Regions from separate parts of the Homo sapiens genome. Here all the other regions are linked to region 2. Evidence: promoter capture Hi-C in human tissues and cell types (Jung and others, 2019). All regions are on one chromosome and are shown on one strand. Each heading gives the region's core, a stretch centred on a gene start or on the middle of the fragment in contact. The rest is flanking DNA. Distances are from core to core; before and after follow the strand shown. Region 1 overlaps TANC2 (tetratricopeptide repeat, ankyrin repeat and coiled-coil containing 2). Region 2 holds the start of TACO1 (translational activator of cytochrome c oxidase I). Region 3 has its middle 9.6 kb from the start of MARCHF10-AS1.

Region 1 (4,470 bases), core at 131-2,630, 600 kb after region 2:
TGTAAGGAAAACACCTTTTCCCTTCTAGTTTTAAGAAACTTCCTCTTGGCTCCCAGGAAGAAGGATTTCCTGACTTTGACACACATAGCCACCTTGGCACAAATGCCACGTGGTATGAAAAAACAAATTCATTCTTACGTCCTCTTCTCCCTTTCCACCTTCAGCACAGACTTAACTCCTTAGGCCCAAACACCTGTTGGGACCTGAGCCCCAGTAATTGGTTACCAGTGTGTCAGGCAATCTGAACCTTCCAGTGATGCCACTGAGATGGCGCCCCTCAAAAGAGCAGCAGTTGAGGATCTTCAGATAAATTTTGCCATTTTCATTTCGCTACCTGAAAGTCAGGGCTGGCTCATGAAAAGTTGTTAAACAACAGCTAAATGTGAAATGTCAACCCTCCCTCTAAACTTTCCCTGTTCTGAGCATCAAATGAAGACTTCATGGGTTTTATAGTGGCTTTCTGATTTTTGGTGGTCCATCAAAGAAGGAGTCTGAAAGTTGTTGTACACTGTTAATGATTGTCTGCCCATGTCCTGCCTGAAATACCATGACTGTTTCTGGGAAGTATCTTCAAGAAAGCAGAGTACAGTTTGAAAAAAAACAAACAAATTAAAAAACAGACTGTCTCACTATTTACAGGTAGACAAAGGATTCTTAGGAACATAGAAAGCAACAGCCACTTAAAAAAACATATATTTGGAGGTTATTAAAAATTTAAAAACATCTGCTAAGATAACATTAAAGAAAACAGGCAAGCCACAAACTGGGAAAAATTATTCACAAAACATATATAACACAGGACTTACATCCAAGATACAGTAGTCCCCCTTTATCTGCAGTTTTGCTTTCCATGGTTTCGGTTACCTGCAGTCTAAAAATATTACATGGAAAACTGCAGAAATAATTCATGTTTTAAATTACACACCATTCTAAGTAGCCTGATGAAATCTCACACCATCCTGCTCCATCCTGCCTGGGAGGTAAAACATCCCTTTGTCTAGTTTATCCAAGCTGTATATGCCACCTGACCACTGGTCAATTAGCAGCCACCCTGGTTATCAGATCAGTTACTGCATATAGCGTGTACAGGATTTGGTACTGTCATTTCAGGCATCCACTGTGGGGTGTGTCTTGGAATGTGGATACGGAGGGACTACTGTATATAAAGAACACCTACAACTCAGTAATAAAGAGACAATCGATTTTCAAATGGGTAAAAGATTTGAACAGGTAGTTTCAAAAAGTAGATATATAAATGACCCACACCCAAATTATAAGGGCTCAACATTATATGTCATTGCAGAAATACAAATTATAATTAGCTATCCACTATACTCCCACCAGAAGAGCTAACTTTAAAAAGTTTGACAATATCAAATATTGATCACAATGAAGAGTAATTTAAATTCCAACACACTATTTTAGGAGTATAAAATGGTACAATGGCTTTGGAGAAAAATATAGCTGTTTATTATGAAACTTACTGTACACCTAATGCATGACTCCACCTCTACTATTTACCCAAGAGAAATTAAAACATATATGCATAATGAAAAGACTAGTACAACAATTTTCATAACAGATTTATAATACCCTATACCTAGACTAGGTGTCCATCAACAGACGAATAAACTATGGGATATTCACAAAGAGGAATATTACTCAGCAAGAAAAAGGAATGAACTACTCATACAGTCAACACAGATAAATCACAACATATAATATGCCAAGTGAAAGAACCTTTACATAGAAGCATATGCATTGCATTATTACATTTATACCAACTTCAAGAATAATCTATGCCAAAAAAATCAGAATAATGGTTGTCTCTTGGGGGTAGATATGGGGATCAACTTAGAAATGGCACGAGGAACCTTTCTAGGATGATGGTAATATTCTATATGTTTTGAAGATGATTACTTTTTTCAAATGAAAAATGTAAACAAATGCTAAAATCCACTTAATGATATTCATGCTTAAATAGGAGAAAGCATATAGATGTCTGCAGATTATTACTTTGAAATGCATCAAAAAATAAGGTGGATTGATGGACTGATGGAGGCATAGAGAGGCAGATATGTGATGAATTATAACAAAATAAAATGTTAACAGTAAACTGTAAGTAGTGGATATACATGCGATAACTAAAACTATTTAAAATGTAAATAACTGAGCTGTTAATGGCTTGGAGATGCTCCCCCACTTCTCCAGAGAACTGCCTTTGGCTAACTGGCACCATCTTGCCCAGAAAGCTTCATGCCTTACTACTTCTACCCTAGAGAGGTTCTCAGTCAATGACTAATTATTAATCATTGAGATACAAAAGACCAGCTTCCTTAATTCCAGGGGAGGGCAACTCTGTGGTATGATTTATGCTCCAAAACCGTCACCCATAACTTCTTATGTGTTCTTCCCCAAATACTTACCTCCAAAAGACATCTTATATACCTGATTGTCTTATCAGTTTCCCTACTAGAATATAAGCTCCAGGAGGGAAGAGAAGATGCCTGTTTAATTCATTGCTACAGCCCTGTAAATGGAAAATAATACTTGATACACAGGAAGTGCTAAATATTTGCTGAATTTATCAATTACATATTTTTGTTTGTATACCATTGTCCATATCAAATCCCTTATAAAGAAATCTGGTCTTGACCAGGCGCAGTGGCTTATACCTGTAATCTCAACACTTTGGGAGGTAGAGGCGGGCAGATCACTTGAGGTCAGCAGTTCAAGACCAGCCTGGCCAATGTGGTGAAACCCTGTCTCTACTAAAAAATACAAAAAAGTTAGCCGGGCATGCTGGCATGCACCTGTAGTCCCAGCTACTTGGGAGTCTGAAGCAGGAGAATCGCTTGAACCCGGATGGCAAAGGGTGCAGCGAGCTGCCAGAGGACTCCAGCCTGGGCAACAGAGGGAGACTCCATCTTGGAAAAAAAAAAAGAAAGAAAGAAAAAGAAAAAAAAAAAAGAAAAGAAAAGAAAAACGAAAAGGAAACCTGGTCTTATTAATCTTTTTAACCACAACACCTAGTTCATGGTAGGCTCTCAACATTTCTTGAATGAGTAAATAAACTGAGCAAAGACACAATTCATCAGATTTACTGACTTAGTAAAGAAGGGGCATAATAAAAGTAAGTTTCATTGAGCGAGAAATGATTTTAAATCAACCAGAACAATGAGGACTACCTAGAATGAATGTGTACCAGGGAATCAAGAAAAGGCATGAAAATTGTAGGAATAGTTCAAAATTTTATCTGAGGGAAAACCAAGAATATTCTAGGCTTACTTAGAACTTCTAACTCAAACTCTGATTATTTACACATAGTTGTTCAAAGTTTTGAAAGGAAAAAAATGAGTGCAGATTATCATTATCATAAAAACAGCAACTTATTACTTAAAATTTACTAAGAGTCAAAAAAAGACCAGGAGAACATACTTAAGTTGATTTAGGTAAAATATTTTGGTGGGTGGCATAAATTATAGTGATGGCTACTTCTTGAAGATATAGAGGGTTTTTTTTTTTTTTTTTTGCTAGTTCTAAAACTTTTTTAATTACTTCAATATATAGAAAAGTAAAACATAAAGCTACTCATCTCATAGTTACATTTTGATTAAATGATTTTCCTCAAGTTAACATACCAATAGAAAACTGATCATAATAAAATATTAATATAGAAATTCCACAAATTGAAGCTAAGTGGGAGAAGGCAGTTTGGTCTAATTGACACTAATGTAAATCTAAATTTTACCCTGCTTTTCCAAATTTTGCATCCAAATTTTAAGATGTTCACTCTCTCAGGAGGAATCATCAGATACATCCCTGGCAAGTGAAATATCTGGACAGGAAAATAACAAGCCATTGACAGGCCCCCAATCATTTCTAATTTTCTTACACTTAGCTGATTTGAACATTATGTTATCTACATGGTCCCTAAGCTTTTATGTTTGTGACACTCATTCTAAACCATTCAGGAGAAGTAATGACTTCTTAATGGTCCACTAAGGCTGGAGACTCAACAACCTATTTCAATGTCTTCTTCTGCTATATTATTAACAGGCAATCAATTTTCATTTTCAATGTTCATCCCTCCTGTATATTTAAAGCCCTTTTCTTATCCTGTTGTTTAAAAAAAGTAAAACATCCCATGCATAAAAATGTTTATGTAATTAATAATGTAATCAAATTAACTATTAAGTACTTCTGTACTATTTTGATGATCATGACATCCTGTTAATATTTCCATTCTAATGCCAGCTTTTTATTTTAACTTATTGTAGATTCAAGGGGACATGGGCAGATTTGTTTTCTTGGTAAAATGCGTGTGACAGGGTTTGGCGTACAGATTTTGTCACTCAGGTAATAAACACAGTATCTAATAGGTAATTTTTTGATCCTCACCTTCCACACCCCTCCATCCTCAAGTAGGCCCTGGTGTGTGTTCTTCCTTTCTTTGTGTCCATGCGTGCT
Region 2 (4,502 bases), core at 1,797-4,296:
TTCAAGCGATCCTCCTGCCTCAGCCTCCCAAGTAGCTGGGACCACTGGTGTGCACCACCACACCCAGGTAATTTTTTTCGTATTTTTTGTAGATTCAGGTTTTCACCATGTCGCCCAGGCTGGTCTCAAACTCCTGAGCTCAAGTGATCTGCCTGACTCGGCCTCCCAAAGTGCCGGGATTACAGGTGTGGGCCACCATGTCTGGCCAGAAAAGACCTTTTTTTTGAGACAGAGTCTCACTCTGTCATCCATGCTGGAGTGCAGTGGCATGATCTTGGCTCATCTTGGCTCAATGCAACCTCCCACTCCCGGGTTCAAGGGATTCTCCTGCCTCAGCCTCCTAAGTAGCTGGGATTACAGGTGTCTGCCACCATGCCCAGCTAATTTTTGTATTTTTAGTAGAGATGAGGTTTCACCACGTTGGCCAGGTTGGTCTCGAACTCCTGACCTCAAGTGATCCACTCACCTTGGCCTTCCAAAGTGCTGGGGTTACAGGCATGAGGCACCGTGCCTGGCCAGAACTTTCTAATTCATTGTCTTTAGGGATGGTTTTCATTCTGCTAGGTTTCAGCGATCTCTACTTTGTGTCAGATGAAGAAGGGTTATAGATGGTAACAACACTTCCTGGACTCATTACTGCTCTTACTCTACTACTTTGTGCATAATAATTATTTTTATTTTATTTTATTTTTATTATTATTTTTTGAGACAGAGTTTTCCTCTGTTGCCCAGGCTGGAGTGCAGTGGTGTAATCTCGGCTCACTGCAAGCGCCGCCTTCTGGGTTCACGCCATTCTCCTGCCTCAGCCTCCTGAGTAGCTGGGACTATAGGCGCCCGCCACCACCACGCCTGGCTAATTTTTTTGTATTTTTAGTAGAGACGGGGTTTCACCGTGTTAGCCAGGATGGTCTCGATCTGACCTCGTGATCCGCCGGCCTCAGCCTCCCAAAGTGTTGAGATTACAGGTGTGAGCCACCGTGCCCAGCACTTTGTGCATAATTATTGAAATGTTCACATGACATTGTGATCTGAGGGTAGGGGCTGTATCTCATCATCTTTCTAGTACCAATGGCATGCCTGGCACAAAATAAACACAAGTTGGTTGAACTTCATTGGGATGCAGTGGCTGATACCTGCAATCCCAGCACTTTGGGAGGTGGAGGTGGGTAGATCATTTGAGGTCAGGAGTTCGAGACCAGCCTGGCCAACATGGTGAAACCCTGTCTCTATTAAAAATACAAAAAAATTTAGCCAGGCATGGTGGTGCACACTTGTAGTCCCAGCTACTCCGGAGGCTAAAGCAGGAGAATCACTTGAGCCTGGGAGGTGGAGGTTGCAATGGGCCAAGATCACGCCACTGCACTCTACCCTGGGTGACAGAGTGAGACTCTGTCTCAAAATAAATAAATAAATAAATAAATAAAAGTTGCTTGAACTTAATATCAAGAATTTTGAAGAAAAGGAAGCAAACAAATACCAGGCATGAGCTGAGGGGGTAAATTAACATTAACTGAATGCCTATGATGTGCCATAAACCATAAACTACCTCAAGGTGGGTATTATCCTTGTTTCAGAGAAACTCAAGTTAAGCTACTTGTTCAAGGTTAGTCAGTGACAGAAACCAGTCTTCCTGACTCCAAAGTCCACAGTTTCTCTCTCTTTTTTTTTTTTTTTTTTTGAGATGGAGTCTTGCTCTGTCACCCAGGCTGGATGGAGTACAGTAGAGCAATCTCGCTTACTGCAGCCTTCAACTCCTGGGTTCAAGCAATTCTCCTGCTTCAGCCTCCCGAGTAGCCAGCATTACAGGCATGCACCACCATGCCCAGCTGTTTTTTTTTTTTTTTTTTTTTGTTATTTTTAGTAGACACAGGGTTTCCCCATGTTGGCCAGGCTAGTCCTGAACTCCTGACCTCAAGTGATCTGCCTGCCTCTGGCCTGGGATTACAGGCTGTGCCACTGCGCCCAGTCCAAAGTCCATGCTTTCTACAGGACTTTTCCTTTGCTCCTACAGATGTCTGGCCCTAAACAGAAAAAAAGCCTTTTCAGTGTGGCGACCTAAGGGAGAAAAGACATGGCTGCAAATCTACCTTCCAAGGAAATGTGTCTTGGGGAAACATTAATGAAGCAAACTAAGGCCTAAGCTAAGGCCTAAGCACTTAAGTAATAGCTTTACTCAGTGCCCCTGCCACAACCAATAAGGTACTTGAGGCGACTTCAGAGGGGTTGATTTGTCTCTTCAGGAGAGACACACATCTGCCCTGACTCTTAGGGCTTGTTTCTATTAAGTACCCAGCTAGATTAGGATGAAGTCACTTCTACCTTACCGGCTTATCTTCTTAAGAGCAGCTCCCTCTCTGACAAACTGGCCAGATGCTCAGCGTCTGGAAAAGTGAGTGAGAACCTCCAACGTAGGGTAGGTGTTTTGAGGATTTATGAGGTGGGCAATGGTGGGTACTGGGGAAGGAAAACAAAGTGAAGGGCCGGAGATCTAGGTGGGCCCAATTCCGAGAGGCAAGCGAGGCTGCGGGCACTGAGAGGGCAGCGGCAGCCAGTGCTGGGTGACCGTCAGGGTCTCACCTTTCACTGCCAGGCGGATGTTCAAACAGAGTTTGGAGAAGATGCGACTCCTTTCGACGTCCTTCGGACCCTTGATGTGCCTGACTTTGGACCACTTGTTGTGCCCGGCGGGGACAGCCGCGGTAAAGTGCAGCGTCCTGCCCGGAGCGGCACCGCAGCCCCGGGGCTCGGGGTGGGAGGGCCGGGGGTCGCGCGGAGGAGCCGCCCTGACCCCGGGGCCTCGTGCCAGCAAGCATCGGGCAGCGGCCCTGCTTAGGCTGGCAGCAGCCCAAGCCGACATCGGTCCCGACCCTGGGGTTCAAGCTGCTAGCAGCAGCGGCCAACGCCGGCGCGTCTCTTCCACTGCCGGAACAAGCAGTTCCGGACCCCGCGGCCGCCTGTGCCGGTCACCTGAGATCCAAAGGCTTGGGCCCGCCCGGGGCGGCTCAACAGCTAATGACCCTACACTGTCCCCGCGGCACCCGGGACTGGGGGCCCTTGATGGCGTAGCACACTTCCTTTACCGGGTTCGCTCCAAAAACACGTCCCCACTGCCCGCAAAGTCCGTTCCGTGGCTGCACGGTACTCGCTCCTCTCTTGCCCTTGAGCAGATCTAGTTAGTGCTCAAGCCCTCACGGTTGCCTAGAGAGCGCCGGACTTTGTTTCTCATAATGTTTTAGTGGAGACACATCTGAGTTATGAAACTGACTTTGCTTCCAAATTGCTGCCTAAATCTGAGCAAGTCCAGAATGATATTTTGTTGTTGCCTCATTGTACTGGGAAAGAAACTGCTGCCAGAGAAGTGAATTGCCCAAATGTTTAATCTCTCTGAACGTCTTCCCTATTTATAAATAAGGATCTAATATTTGCTTTATCAACATAGGAAAGTTAGAAACACAAAATGAGCCCTTAGAGCTTTAAAGTAATAAAGTTTTATGTAAATAGCCACAGTGCACTTAAGCCCCTAGATGCAAGAGATGGTTTGGGACAGACTCAGATGAGTCACAGGCCTTTGGGAGAGGGAGAATGATCAGACAAGCCCTTTGGAGCTAAACTCCCCTCTTCATTTTCTCTCTGCTGTCTCGAAAGAGAAAACCGAATCCGTTAGAAGATGGAGAGAAACAAAGCGGCAGCTGCTGAAAAGCTTTGTAGTGACTCCCATGCTGGTGAGATTAAGTCCAAAGGGCATGACATATCAGGTAGAGAAGCAGGACAGCCGGGCGCGGTGGCTCACGCCTGTAATCCCAGCACTTTGGGAGGCTGAGGCAGACGGATCGCTAGGTCAGGAGTGCCAGACCAGTCTGACCAACATGGTGAAACCCCGTCTCTACTAAAAATACAAAAAAATTAGCCGGCCGTGGTGGCGCGCGCCTGTAATGCCAGCTACTCAGAAGGATGAGGCAGGAGAATCGCTTGAACCCGGGAAGAGGAGGTTGCAGTGAGCCGAGATCGCGCCACTGCACTCCAGCCTGTGCGACAGAGCGAGAATCCAACTCAAAAAAAAAAAAAAAAAAGAGAGAGAGAGAGAGAGAGAAGCAGGACAGTGTGAAGTCCAAGTTTGTGCCCTCTGCAGTTAGACTGGGTGGCTTCAAACCCTGGTTGTTCCATTTTCTAGTGTATCCTTGGGCAAGTTCCTTTACTTTCCTGTTTCAGTTTCCTTACCATAGAATGGCCTTGTGAGGACTAAATGGGATAATGGATGCAAAGCACAAAAGCATAGATTTTTTATTTTTTATTATATAAGAACCTCCATGGGGCTGGGTGCGGTGGCTCACGCCTGTAATCCTAGCACTTTGGGAGGCCGAGGCTGGCAGATCACTTGAGGTCAGGAGTTCAAGACCAGCCTGGTCAACATGGTGAAACCCCGTCTCTACTAAAAATACAAAAATTAGCCAGGTGCGGTGGGTGCCCATAGCCCTTCATACATGCTTGCACCTTAGCACTTA
Region 3 (3,929 bases), core at 762-3,261, 900 kb after region 2:
AAAAGGCAGTGATGAGGCCAGGTGCGGTGGCTCACGCCTATAGTCCTAGCACTTTGGGAGGCCGAGGTGGGCGGATCACTTGAGGTCAGGAGTTCATGACCAGCCTGGCCAACATGGTCAAACCTGGTCTCTACTAAAAATAAAAAAATAATTAGCCAAGCCTGGTGGAGGGTGCCTGTAGTCTCAGCTACTCAGGAGGCTGACGCAGGAGAATCGCTGAAGCCCGGGAGGCAGTGAGCTGAGATCGCGCCACTGCACTCCAGCCTGGGTGACAGAGCAAGACTCCGTCTCAGAAAAATAAAAAATAAAAATAAATAATGCTAAAATATAAAATAAAGCATCCCCAATGGTATAAATGTCTAATACGTCAACCGAGCCCCACTTTATTTCTATGCATTGTACCCCACAGCCCAGGAGACCCAGGTGTCCCTCCGCCACTGCTTTGGGAAGGGAGGCCGTGGAGGCTCAGAAGGAAAGAGGTCATTCTTAGCCCTCAAGTCTCAAAATAGCCCTAAAACTCTCCAGAGATGAGAGGTTGGGACAAAGTTCTTTAGTCCCCAGGCCTGACTACAAGATCTCGAGGGGCTCTCTGTAGCCCTGTTGCCCACCCCACAACACGTTTTCCAGTGCAGGGAGGAGAGGTGGCATGGCAAGTTCTTCACCTTTGTGCCTTAGCTTTCTCATCTGTAAGAGGGGGACAGTAGCACCTACCTTATGTTGTATTGGGAAGATTAAGTGAGTTAATACGTGTTAAGCAGTTAGAACAGGGCGTGTACATAGTAAATAATACCTATTTTGTTATTATCATTGTCATGGAGGAATAGTGGGTCAGAGGCAGTGTTCTGAGCCCCCTGCAGCCCCAGTATGAGGAAAGACACCATCCAAGGTTCCCCAAGTCCCTGAGGGAGATGCAGAAGGGCAGGACACCCCTGCATAAGCCAGCGGGGACATAAATGACCGGGAACCAGATGTCCCTCCCCCAGCTGTGAAACCTGGACGCTCCATAGGACCTTAGAGGCACCTGGAAATATAGGCGAAAATCCCAACTGCACTAGAAAACCTTAACTGACCAGGATTTCCCTGAAATGGCTATAACTAAAGCTCTGCCATCAGCCGATGCAAGGAGACAGTTAAGGTTCTGCACTCCTCACTGTGTGGCCTTGAACCTCAGCGCCCCCAGCGTGTCCACCTCCAGCAGGAAAGGCCTGCCCACCGCTCCTCCTCCTCCCCTTTCTCCAGCGCTGGCATCCCGCCTGCTTGTCTGGCCAAGGAAGGATTGAAATCTGTCCCTCAAATGGTGCTGGTTCTGGTGGGAGTGAAGCCTGCAGGCTTTCCCCGGGGCCTCTTGGCAGTCCCAGCCCCGAAGATAAAGAAAATCAGGCCTGTCCGGAACATCTCGGTACTTTCATCTGGTGCTGGTCTTTCACAGCCCCCTTCATTTCCCTGCTGTCCTTTGCCCGCCCTCCCTCCCTCCAGCCTGCCTTCCTCCGGGTCCTCCCTCAAGTCGCAATTCTTTGCCTTGTGCCTGCAATGGACTCAAGCCCTGGTGCTCGAGGCGGCTTGGCCGGGCTCAGGTGGCTCCGTTCCAGGAGAGCCATGTGGTGTGGCTGGCGGCTCCTCACCCCTGCGGCCTCACAGGGCTGCCCACTGGGCCAGGCCAGCTCTGCCAGCACACCTTCGAGGAGGCCATCTCTGGCGCGACAAGAAGCGGTTGAGAGAATGCTGTTCTCTGGAGAGCAGCCGCATTCTCCCATTCATTCACGGATCCAGGTGGCCAGAGCGGGGCGGGTTAACCCTGCAAGTGAAGGCTGGGCCTAGCGCCTGGCATACAGTGCTGATTGCCCAGGCCTGCCAGGATAGGCTTGGGGGCATCTGCCACCCAGCAAAGAGCCTGGTATGTAGAGGAGGTACTTGATGTATTGAAATGAAATGAGCAGAAAGGAAGGAGACTGCCACCAGGGCTATCCTGAGCCAGAGGGTGAGTGGCCGGCATCCAGAGCCTGCCTCCTGCCCCTTCAGAGAGATGCAGGAGCCTCCCTTAGTCATCTCTGGGCAGGCTTAGAACGAGGTCTAGGGGTAGCCTCCAGGCACCCGTGACGCTGTCTGAAATGCTTGCAGGTGGGTGCAGGGCCCTGGGGAGACTCGTCACCTGAGCAAGGCAGAGAGACGTGAGGAGAGCAGGCACCAGCCACTGACGAGGGCAGCTCTGGCCACTGGGGTCCTCCGTCCCTCCGCTGCTCCCTCCCACCCCTCAAGCTAGTGATCCGGACCTCACTCCTTGACCTTTCTTCTCTCCCGAGGTTAGAGTCACTAGGGTCTTGGGGGGCCTCTCCCCCAATGTTTCTTGTGGTGTTGTGTCTGGAGTTGGTTCCTTCCAGTGGGTTCGTGGTCTCACTGACCTCAAGAATGAAGCCTCGGACCTTCACGGTGAGTGTTACAGCTCTTTTTTTTTGTTTTTGAGACAGAGTCTCGCTCTGTCGCCCAGGCTGGAGTGCAGTGGCACAATCTCGGCTCACTGCAAGCTCCGCCTCCTGGGTTCACGCCATTCTCCTGCCTCAGCCTCCCGAGTAGCTGGGACTACAGACGCCTGTCACCACGCCCAGTTAATTTTTTGTATTTTTAATAGAGATGGGGTTTCACCATGTTAGCCAGGATAGTCTTGATCTCCTGACCTCATGATCTGCCTGTCTCGGCCTCCCAAAGTGCTGGGATTACAGGCGTGAGCCACCATGCCTGGCCTAGTGTTACAGCTCTTAAAAGTGGCACGGACCCAAAGAGTGAGGAGCAGCAGCAAGATTTATTGTGAAGAGTGAAAGAACAAAGCTTCCACAGTATGGAAGAGGACCTGAGCGGGTTGCTGCTAGGGGTGGGGTGGGTGGGGAGGACACAGCTTTTATTCCCTTATTTGTCCCCGCCCATGTCCTGCTGATTGGTCCATTTTACAGAGTGCTGATTGGTCCATTTTACAAACCTCTAGCCAGGTACAGAGTGCTGATTAGTGCATTTTTACAGAGCACTGATTGGTGCATTTTACAAACCTCTAGCTAGCTACAGAGCACCAATTGGTGCATTTTTACAGAGCACTGATTTTACAAACCTCTTGTAAGAAAAGTTCTCCAAGTCCCCACTCAACCTAGGAAGTCCAGCTGGCTTCACCTCTCACTGTGGGCAGTGGCAGGGCACTTAACTCACAAAGGGAGCTGTTTGGGCTGCAGGGCTAGATAGCAACTCACTCCAGGGTGAACCTCCCACAGGACTGGGACTCCCTCCCCTGAGTGATTAGGCGCCTTCCATGGGTCCTGCTGTTGCTGGGGCGGCACAGAGAGGATTGCTGGAGGGGGTCCCCTGGGCTCCACCGTAGTCCTGGACTCAGGCCAGCAGCTCATGGGCTCTCCCTAGGGCTCCTGTCTCAGGAAACAGCACCCCATTCACCCTGCAGTCCAGGCGGGAAGCTTGGAGTGCTTCCTGACTCCCACTGCCTTTCCCCAGGCAGATCCCATCCCCAGCAAGGGCATCCGCCATCCCTTCAGTCCAATCTGGCGTTCATTTGCTTTCACAAAGAAACACTGGAAAGACAGGAAACTGACAGGGCAGGAGGGTATAGGCTGGAGGGCGACGGGCAGGGGCAGGACTTGCGCAACATCTATCTTGGGATATCATTTAGGTATCCCACGCAATGCAGACTGCGTGACTGCATTGTCTATTCATAAAAGTGGAAACTTATTTTAAATATCATGAACAGGGCAAAACACACACACACGCACGCGCGCGCACACACACACACACACACACACACACACACACAGAATCTGACCACTACTGCAGTCCTGATCCCAACAAACCACCGTCTTGTTGTGCCTGAATTATTACAAGAGCTTCCGCACCAGCCTTCCTGCTTTCACTCCCCCGTTTCCCATCCATTGTCTATT

Evidence for each region. Contacts are between HindIII fragments. The study calls those that stand out against the background at their distance.
Region 1: a fragment that was not itself captured here is called in contact with the fragment with the promoter of TACO1 in region 2 in 2 of the 25 tissues and cell types used here (IMR-90 fibroblasts and dorsolateral prefrontal cortex).
Region 3: a fragment that was not itself captured here is called in contact with the fragment with the promoter of TACO1 in region 2 in 1 of the 25 tissues and cell types used here (spleen).

Annotation. Positions count from the first base shown.
Region 1 is chr17:63,000,031-63,004,500 of GRCh38, reverse strand. All of the region lies in intron 1 of TANC2 (tetratricopeptide repeat, ankyrin repeat and coiled-coil containing 2), which reads right to left. Among named protein-coding and RNA genes, the nearest start is that of TANC2, 36 kb to the right of the region's middle. The HindIII fragment of the contact is 8,308 bases long and covers 1-4,470 here.
Region 2 is chr17:63,599,439-63,603,940 of GRCh38, reverse strand. It overlaps TACO1 (translational activator of cytochrome c oxidase I), which reads right to left and starts at 3,046. Exons shown (of 5, transcript NM_016360.4): 1 at 2,578-3,046. The coding sequence starts at 2,857. The HindIII fragment of the contact is 17,557 bases long and covers 1-4,502 here.
Region 3 is chr17:62,694,606-62,698,534 of GRCh38, reverse strand. No RefSeq gene overlaps it. Among named protein-coding and RNA genes, the nearest start is that of MARCHF10-AS1, 9.6 kb to the left of the region's middle. The HindIII fragment of the contact is 8,069 bases long and covers 1-3,929 here.